Regions from separate parts of the Homo sapiens genome. Here regions 2 and 3 are each linked to region 1. The links are contacts of gene promoters, found by promoter capture Hi-C in blood cells and fetal thymus (Javierre and others, 2016). All regions are on one chromosome and are shown on one strand. Each heading gives the region's core, a stretch centred on a gene start or on the middle of the fragment in contact. The rest is flanking DNA. Distances are from core to core; before and after follow the strand shown.

What was found. The method cuts DNA at HindIII sites, captures the fragments that hold promoters and counts their contacts. A CHiCAGO score of 5 or more calls a contact.
Region 2: a fragment that was not itself captured here is called in contact with the fragment with the promoter of GLRA2 in region 1 in 1 of 17 cell types (M1 macrophages); the score reaches 6.3 in M1 macrophages.
Region 3: a contact is called between a fragment that was not itself captured here and the fragment with the promoter of GLRA2 in region 1, in 1 of 17 cell types (neutrophils). The highest score is 8.9, in neutrophils.

Annotation. Positions count from the first base shown.
Region 1 is chrX:14,527,968-14,531,214 of GRCh38, reverse strand. It overlaps GLRA2 (glycine receptor alpha 2), which reads right to left and starts at 1,679. Exons shown (of 9, transcript NM_002063.4): 1 at 1,090-1,679. The coding sequence starts at 1,157. The HindIII fragment of the contact is 5,355 bases long and covers 1-3,247 here.
Region 2 is chrX:15,225,497-15,228,743 of GRCh38, reverse strand. No RefSeq gene overlaps it. Among named protein-coding and RNA genes, the nearest start is that of ASB9, 43 kb to the left of the region's middle. The HindIII fragment of the contact is 175 bases long and covers 1,707-1,881 here.
Region 3 is chrX:15,045,493-15,048,739 of GRCh38, reverse strand. No RefSeq gene overlaps it. Among named protein-coding and RNA genes, the nearest start is that of MOSPD2, 170 kb to the right of the region's middle. The HindIII fragment of the contact is 3,075 bases long and covers 179-3,247 here.

The DNA of each region.
Region 1 (3,247 bases), core at 430-2,929:
AGTTAAAAATTGATATGAGCATGCATAAATACTCACATTCTCATATGCAGATTCATCTGATTAATCAAGTATTATTTGATTATGATGGTGGTGGTGGTGAGGATGATGATGATGATGATGATTCTAATAAAAACCAGCCTATATTTTTTCTTAATCATAGTAGGAGGTGTAAACCTGAAAGGAACATAGTGGGTTTTCCCAGTATTCATAGCATTATTACTATGTGTTCCATTTATCTTGGTTCTGTGAAAAAATGCCATAAAATTTAATGAAAATTAAATTTAGAGTCCTATACTTTGTTGTAAGAGCATCTCCTGTCTCTGCTCAGTCTTCCACTCTCTGTTATTAGATGACTATTTCACTTACTGGTAATGATTTGATATTTTGAGGTATCAATTGATTTGGCAACTATTCGTAAACCATGTAGAAAATGCAAGCATGAAAATAGTAATTTCTCACTTTTTAAAATTATGCATGCTCCACTTCTCATATGTACATAAATACAATTATGTCATATTAACTAAATTTTGGTAGGCAATCCATTTCCAAACAGATTGAATAGTAGAATATAGTAGTAAAAAGAAATTTTTGATATTTCAAGAAAATTCCTGAATTGTAGTCCTCATAGTATGCTTCTAGTTTCTGAAATATAACAGAAGTCCCAAGTTGGCTGAGAATTAGGGATCTTTTATATTTTATCTAAAATGAGCATGCTCCTGCCAAATTAATACAATCATCTTATATGAAAAACACTGCACCCAATAATCTCTTTAAATTACTTTCAGAAAAATAATTACCCTTATATAGAAATGTAAAGAGCATGCAACTCATCAGACTACCTTAATATCACGTTGGCTGTGAAAATGTGTGTTGAATTGCATAGAGTGCGGCTATGCATCATAAAACTTGCTTTTGTGAAAAATTTACCACCCTCCCACAATTATTAGGCGTTTTAAATGAACAAAAGATATCTAACTTTCCTCTATAAAATTAAAATAATATAGTCCAGAGCACAGATAAATACACAATTACATGACACATTCTCTTTTAAACAATTTAAATATCAACATGCAAAGTCGTTTCACCTACCTGAAGTGGTTTGTCTCTAAGAAAAATGCAAACAAGGCTGTCAAAATGTTCACTAGCTGCCGGTTCATTCCTGTTTCTGTGTTGCTTGTGGAAAATATCCCGAAATGATTCCAGAAAGATGCTAGGACAAAGTGTCTGTTTATTGTCCAGATTCAAAATTTGGCAGGAACCTAGTTTCCTTGAAAATCAAAAAGAGATTTGGTTTTGTACAGTTTGCTGAGAAAAAAGAAAAAGTGCCAGTCCTGGGCATCATGGTCAGGTCAAACCGAGGCTTGGGACCATCAGTTAACCCAGAAAGACAAAGCCTCAGAACTGATGAATCCCCCAGCTGCTTTTCCTGAATAATAAAAATGCTGCTACCTTAATCGCATCACCATGCAAAGGGAGTTGGTGACAATGCCATGCTAGATAGCTGTGGCTTTTGTTTTATATCTTTTCTGTTTAGCAAAGCCCTTTTTCTAGAAAATGTTTTCTTTTAAAAAGAAGTTGTAAATGAGAGAGAAGAAAGGACTCTGCGCGCTGGAGTGGGTGGGGGGAAGAGGGAAAAATTGCTGAGATCCTGTGCTGGAATGAGGGCTATAGAATGAGACGGAGACGTGATCTTACCCAGCCTATAAATTTCAGCACTCGGACAGCTCCAAGCTCTGAAGTGCGCATGTTTCCTTTTTCAGTTGCTTGGGGCGGGGGTCGGGGAAAAGCATTCAAGAGGGGACGTGCCTGCTGTTCGAAGGCAAAGAGTGACTGGCCGTTCAGCGAGGGGATACTGAAGGGGGTACGATGACAGCAAGAGGAGAAGAGAGGTCGGGAGACGGAGAGGGTGAGGGAAGTGGGGTCTGAGCTCCTGGAAATGCTAGGCTGTCGGTGGGTGGGCGGGACGGGAATTTGAAGCAGAAAAGGGAAGGGAATAAGGTTTAATCGTGGGAAAACGAAATTGGGGGAAACAGAGAACAGGATTCAGAGTACTGAAATTATAATAAGGGTGTGGACAGTTCACTCTTTGTCAGTGCAAGCCGGAGGCAAAGAGGAGTCCTGTGCCGAAGAGAAGGGAACATTTCCTTGGCACAGAGAAGCCCGCGTGCAGAAGAAGGTTCATGAAGATCGATAATTTAATTTAGAAGTCCTTTATGCCTTCCTCGCCTTTTTAATGTTTTCATTTGATTTTAGCCGCCTAGTCCCAAAGGATCTCTCTACCTCTGTACTAGGGAAAGCCCCTTCCAACTGAGCTTTCTTCAGTGGCTCAAAATCCTTGGGCATCCGCAAGTCACAGATTTGTAGAAAAGGAAATGAGACAATGGGCCGGCAGGGGGCAGTAGCAATCTTTTCTTGCCATGGTTAAAGGTTAGAGCAGGGCTCCATGTTAGAAATGGAGCAAGGAAAAGTGCAACTGGGAGTTTAGTTCATCTGCCCATTCCAGATGTTAATCACTAGGAACAGTCATGTAATAAAGTGCATATGCTATTCTCCTAAATTGGCTAAAGGGACTGAAAATAGTGGAAGTTCATAAATCTGTACAAAAGTCTGACGAGTAACCCTGCTATTTCAAATCAAAATTACAAATATTATTATTAATAAAAAAGAGGAAGGGTAGATAGTCCAATGCGGATAATTAGCAGCTTCTGGGAAGGGGGAATGAAAAATGCATGTCCTACCATAAGCTAGGAGAGTAACCTACTTTTTGTGGAATATTCCTTGTTAGTCACCTATGTGCTTTACTGGAGGTCTTAATTTTAAAACAAAATAATATGATTAATTTTTACTCCGTAAATGACTAACTTTGGATCAGTTTAAATATCATAGTAGAGTAACAATGAATTCTATGTTTTTAAGAAGTAGATTCAGAGAAAAAAGATGGCAAGTTCTTTTTACCTTTTAATGTTAATATAAATCACCAGAGGATCTTATTGAAATGCAGATTATGATCCAGTAGGTCTGGGGTGGGGCCTGAGATTCTGCATTTCTAAGAAGTTCCTAGCTGAAGTTGATGCTGCTTGTCCACAGTTCACACTTTGAGTAGCAAGAGTCTATATGCCCTTTCATAAGATGTCTATCCCAGTAAGACAGTGAAAATACAGGAATCTCTTTTTAGATGAAATGCAGTAGTGCCCAAGCATTCTATTTACATACAAAATCAATTCTTCAAATATGTTTTCTTAACTTT
Region 2 (3,247 bases), core at 545-3,044, 700 kb before region 1:
GGCCAGGGATCAGTGCCATATAGATACAGGTGCATTTCTTATTTCAACAGAATAACTTAGGCCAATTCTATAAGTGCTGCAATTAACTCTCACAGCACAGATTGCAATTCCGAATAGCAATTCTAAATTCTAAATTGCAATTCTAAATAGCAGGTCAAAATCTCAAGGCAGTGACAAAGACAGCTACACAGAAAGTTAAACGAAACTTTGTTTTTTTTTTTTTTTCTTTCAGGCAGGAAGATCAGTAAGCACAAAGGCCCCGAGGCAGGACCATATTCAGAGAAAAGCAGGGGGCCAGTCTCTGAGACCAAGACTGAATGAATGATGGGGAAACAGATGATCTCAAAGTTGTAAGGAACAGATGCTGGGTGGAAATCTGAATTACATTGTCTTCCAAATGTTTTAAAATTCTGCCTTGCTTTTTCCCTTCATATTGCAATGGAGTATGTCAGTTCATTAGATCTGTGGTTCTTGACCTGGGAGTCTATGGATAGAATTCAGGAGTCCTGTAAATTTAAATTTTAAAAATCTAGTTTTTATTAAACTCCAACTGAAATTGAACATCTCTCTTCATTAGGAATGCAGGAAACTGGAATAGTATTAGTAGTACCTGTACCTCTGTCATCCATAAATATCACAGAGTTTGTTTTTTTTTTAATTCAAAATAGAGTCTTGCTTTGTCACTCAGGCTGGAGCGCAATGGTGTGATCATAACTCACTGCAGGCTTGAACTCCCAAGCTCAAGTGATCTTCCTTCCTCAGCCTCCCCAGTAGCTGGGAGTACAGGTGCATGCCACCATACCCAGCATTTATTTTATTTTATTTTTTAGTAGAGACAAGGTCTTGCTATGTTGCCCAGGCTGGTCTTGAATTCCCGGGCTCAAGCAATACTCCCCTCTTGGCTTCCCAAAGTGCTGGGATTACACAGGTGAGCTACAACGCCTGGCCTCACAGAGACTTTTGCATCAGATTATAGTTGTTGCAAATATTCTGAAATCATCTTTTATGGTCATGATTTCTTTGAAATTACTGTGGTTATTAACCTGCTACGAGATTGCACATGATCATGGTTTTCCTGTCTCCAGATCAAATGATGAAGTTGAATGTTTTCACAACTGGAGTTTAACACAAAAATGTCTGGAGCATCCTGATGTCTCTGAGAGATTATCTTCACCTTGTAAACTGAGCTATGGAAGTTTTAATTCCATTTGGAACAATGTGTCTCCATGGATGGCCTTTTCAACATTTGTAACCCTTAAAACAAAAAATTGATGTTGACTGGATATTCATTATAATATGCCTCTAACCTTATCAAAGACGACTCCACAGTTTAATGTTCTTTTTGAAGCTAAACAACAGCCTTCACACAAAAATGCCTTTAAAAAGTCCTATAATCTGCATATATATTGTATTGTTATTTTATTTGTTGTTATTTAGGGTGATAACAAAGAAGCAGTTATATTATACCATAAATTTATTCATTTCATTTATTTTTAAAGATTTATTAAGGTATACTTTGCATACAATTCATAGAACTTTACCAGCCAGAAAAAAAAAACCTGAGTTTCTATTAGCTGTTGCAAACATATATGCAAGGTCTCCAGGATAACAGCTGGTATCTTGAGAAATTGAATTTTCCAGTGCCAGGTAAGGTTGATGAAGTATTAGCTCCTGAATGGAATATATCATATAAGATTTGACAAGCTTGAATTCATACCTAATGTTCTCAAAAGGGGTAGGAAATGATTGGAGAGCAATCAGGGAGTGTTCCCAAAGAGGCCCTGAACAATGTGAAAGCAGATAAATAAGAAAATGCACCCCATTAGCAGGTCACAAATGGACTGGAATTGGCTTGTCATTGCTGAGAGTAAAATGAAAGCTTAAGGAGATGTGTGAACACAGCACAGAACTCATACCAGTGCTGATTTTTTCCTCTCAGGTACCTAGAGAAATGTGTTTAGTGATTGGCTATTCAGAAGTGCATTTGCCCAAAGGCCCTACTTAAATAAAGGAAAAGAGCCTGCTCGATTGTGCCCCCTATGCTGAGAAATATAAGACCCATAGTTCTGTTTTAGTTGTTAATTTGGGCTCTAACCACATCTGACAATGGTCTAAATTCAATGCTTACAACCAACATTTAACCAAGCAGCCCTTTTTCCACTCTGTACAATACAGTGGAATCGTCTAGGGTTCTCTTGGGCTCACTGAATTCTTGAGTCTGCAGTGGTCTTCATCTGGGGGCTATTCGGCCCCTTCCTAGGGGACATTTGACAATATCTGGGGATACTTTCAGCTGTTACAACTGGAAGGTGCTTCTGGCATCTACTGCATAGAGGCCAGGGACGCTGCTAAACATCCTACGATGTACAGGATAGCCCATGACAATAATGATCTGGCCGAGAACGTGAGGAGTGCTAAGAATGAGAAGCTCCACTGTAAAGGATGGTGCACATAACTGCACAGGAGTGTCAGGTTCACAGAGATGAGGGTCTTTAGGGAGGAGCCGAAGTGTCCAGGTAGAGAACAGAGGAAAAGTCATACCATTTTGTCTCTTCTGACACATTTTCAAACACAACTCTTCTCTGCATTTCAGATTGTTTCATGGAAATGACTCGTTTCTTTCCTGATTTCATCTTCCTTGTGGATACAAAAGGGGCAGCCAAGATCAGGGAAGGTTTACAGCAAAGCTCTGCAACACCTGGAAAAGCATCCACCCACATTTGGAGCTCCTGTGTTTAATTAATCTTACACTAAAATGTCAATATGTTATCAATTAATATTCACTTATTACATTTCAATCATAGTATATTGTATATACTAATATATGCCCTCCTCCTCCTAATTAATATTATTTTTAGCTCCTATTTAAATAAGGAACTTGAATGAGTCCTAACTCATGTCATGGACTGGCTGGGTGATAAAAGAGTTTTCAAACAACATTCTAACCCTGACCTACAGTCAAGGTTAGAGTTGCTCTGTCTTTCCCTGTGGAAAGGAAAAGCCATAGAGGGACAATGAAAATGAATGCGAGAGAAATAAAGAAGCATGACTCACAGAGTTGTGGGATATGGGAATAGTATTCAGACAGGACCTACAGTGGATTGAGAAGTAGGACAAACTTGTAATGAGTGGCATCCTTAATCACCTCTGGTGGTGCATTTTACCTACATAGAATCCATGGCCCATTTGTCTAACTATGTTGTGGTCTATCGGCTGCTAATTACTTCTGCTCTGACATTTGTTAATG
Region 3 (3,247 bases), core at 467-2,966, 520 kb before region 1:
TTGAACTCCTGACCTCAGGTGATCCACCTGCCTTGGCCCCCCAAAGTGCTGGGATTACAGGCGTGAACCACTGCACCTGGCCTACTATCTGATTCCTTACTCAGTAAGTTTGCTGATGCTTGGTCTAGAGTCTAATTCTTGGAAGTGTGATCCATTGCATTAGCATCACCTAGAAGCTTGTTAGAAATGCAACATCTCAGGCCCCATCTCAGATCTACTGAATCAGAACCTGAATTTTAGCAAGATCCCCTGGTAATTTGTATACACATTTATATTTGAGAATCACTGATCTAGAAATTATCTTTAAATGACTTACAATCGATTCTTGTCTGTCTTTAGTTTTTTAAAAGTTTGCTCATTTTTTTTCATTTTTGGAAAATGATAATACTTGTATGTAGTAAAAACTTCAAATATAGAGTGACAATTTATAGAATTCTTTTTAATTCCTTGTTTTTACCCCCCAAAATACCATACTGTATACATTGTTATGTACCTAGCTTTCACACATAATAACATACTTAAGACCTAGCCTCATCAATACATAAATCCAGCCCAATCCTTTGAATGGCTACATGATATTCAATTTAGCATATATACAATATTTTATTTAGTCCCCTTATAATGAATTTATAGTGAAAAAATTTTCCATTTACTGAAGTTATTTTTATGATCACTGTTTTTCTGTGGACAGCTTCAAATTTATCATTGTCTTCCAGAGTATGGTTAGTTGAAAACATACTATGCTGGATTCTTTGTAGGCCCCAAATATTGGCTCTTTCAATGAATTCATCAGAAAATTTTATAGAATCAAATATGGTAGAAATTAAAATTTGGGGGATTATGGAGGGAGTCAGAAGCAGCACAGTTCCATTCAAGTCCTTGGGCTGGGATCTTCCCGTTGCCTCTCCAGATCTATCCTGCACCTTTCTTGATGTTGCACTTTGTCATCTCCCTTCCAATTTAGCCAATGAGGAGCCCTAGCAGGATGGATTTCCCCCCCTCTTATTTCTTCTGATACTTCCAGGATTCCTGTTGAAGGTCAATGTTTTCTTCATAGGTGGGTTTTTCTATATGGTTTTCTTTTTCCAGTTTTCTGGAATCTCAATCTCACCTTATCCCTGCAGGCTTAGGAATAGAAACAACTTCCCTGCACCCAGTCCTGTGATATGTTCTCCATAGCTTTGTAAATAATCTCTTTATTGTGGCACTATTCACAATAGCAAAGACTTGGAACCAACCCAAATGTCCAACAAGGATAGACTGGATTAAGAAAATGTGGCACATATACACCATGGAATACTGTGCAGCCATAAAAAATGATGAGTTCATGTCCTTTGTAGGGACATGGATGAAATTGGAAATCATCATTCTCAGTAAACTATCGCAAGGACAAAAAAAACCAAACACCGCATGTTCTCACTCATAGGTGGGAATTGAACAATGAGAACACATGGACACAGGAAGGGGAACATCACACTCTGGCGACTGTTGTGGGGTGGGGGGAGGGGGGAGGGATAGCATTGGGAGATATACCTAATGCTAAATGACGAGTTAATGGGTGCAGCACACCAGCATGGCACATGTATACATATGTAACTAACCTGCACATTCTGCACATGTACCCTAAAACTTAAAGTATAATAATAATAAAATAAAATAAATAAAAAAATAAAAATAATAATCTCTTTGTAAACAGACTTTTTTCAAGTCATCCAAAATTGAGTTTGATTTCCTGTTGTATTGATACAATTCCCTTCCTGCTTGTACTCGCCAGCTGTGGGAAGTAGTGAATGGACCAGATTTTACATACCATACAAGTAATTACTTTGGTAATGCAGGTCGAGGAATCCTGGAAAATGTTTAGCTATCAGCTCCAAAGACATTTTATCTTTGACTCCTGAATCAGTTAGGATCTTCTGATTGCAAGTGACAGAAAGTCCAATTCCAACTGGGTTAGAACCAAAAAGGGATTAAACTGTCACAAGCAAATGAAAAGTGCAAGGATCAATTTGGCTTCAGGCTCAGCTAACTGGTAAGCCCAGGAGCAGGAGGCCTGTCACCAGCAGCTGTTACTTTGATATCTTTTTGATCTGTTCTTTATGTTGGCTTTATGCTCAGGTTCCCATAGGAGGCCAAAATGTAGGCTTCAGACCTACATTTTCCTGATTTAAGGTCAGCGGGAAAGAGAGACAGTCTTCTCCAAAAGCCTTCATAGAAGTCTGATTTCTCATTCTCACTGGCTCAACTTGGTCTTTAGCTCATCTCTGAATAAAGCCCTGGGGAAAAAAAAAAGAAAACTATTTATCAAGCACTTAATATGTGGCAAACATGGTTCTAAGCATTTCTCCCATGCGATAGGCATTATTATTGTGTCTATTTTACTGAAGAAGGTAGTGAGACATATAAAGATGATGTCCCAGAGCTAATAAGTGGTAAAGCAGAGAGTAAAACCTGGGTAGTCTTGCCCCTTTCCCAAATATAAACCACTTTACTCTTTGGGCTGTCTGGCTTGGTCCTGAGTCTCACGACCACCTCTGGAGCTGGGGTGATGTCAGCTTCACATAAACGTCTACGGATGTGAAGTAGCAGAGGAAATGTCTTCTCACTGGTTGCAATCTCTTTCCTAGTTCCAACCCTGGAATGGAAGGCTGTCTGTTCTAGGATGGCAGCCAAGCGATAGGGTTCACCTTGGGTTCTGGGAGACCATGGCAGGAGCATAATTTTCTGACAGAAACAGCCCTGTACACCAAGAGCCAGAAGGACAGAGAAAGCAAAATCCCTTGGGAAAACCAAGGATTAATAGAGGTGAAACCCAAATGCAGCAGTCAGAAGCAGCAAACAAATAGGGACCACAAAGTCTCCATCACTCAATGAATTAGTGAAGATAGCACACAAATGTCAAGTACAAAGAGTTGGATCATCAAATTTTAGACTTCTTCAGGGTTTGGGATGAGAAATTCTACACGTGGAAATCAAGTCATGACTACTTAATGTGAAGAAGAATGGATTTTGTTTTAATGGATAGAGGAAAGACTGAAGACAAATACAAACTTCAAAGTAGGAGGAATGAGTAATATAGGTGCATAGTTGCTAAGGAAACATTTTCTTAATTGGAAAAAGATGAACTTTTTTATATGCACACAAGGATCAGCCTCTGACAACACCCCCACTTTCTCCCCAACAATTTTTCTGATGTAGAGTACAAGAAAGTTCCATATTTTGGAGAAGAGATTAAACATTAATGTTT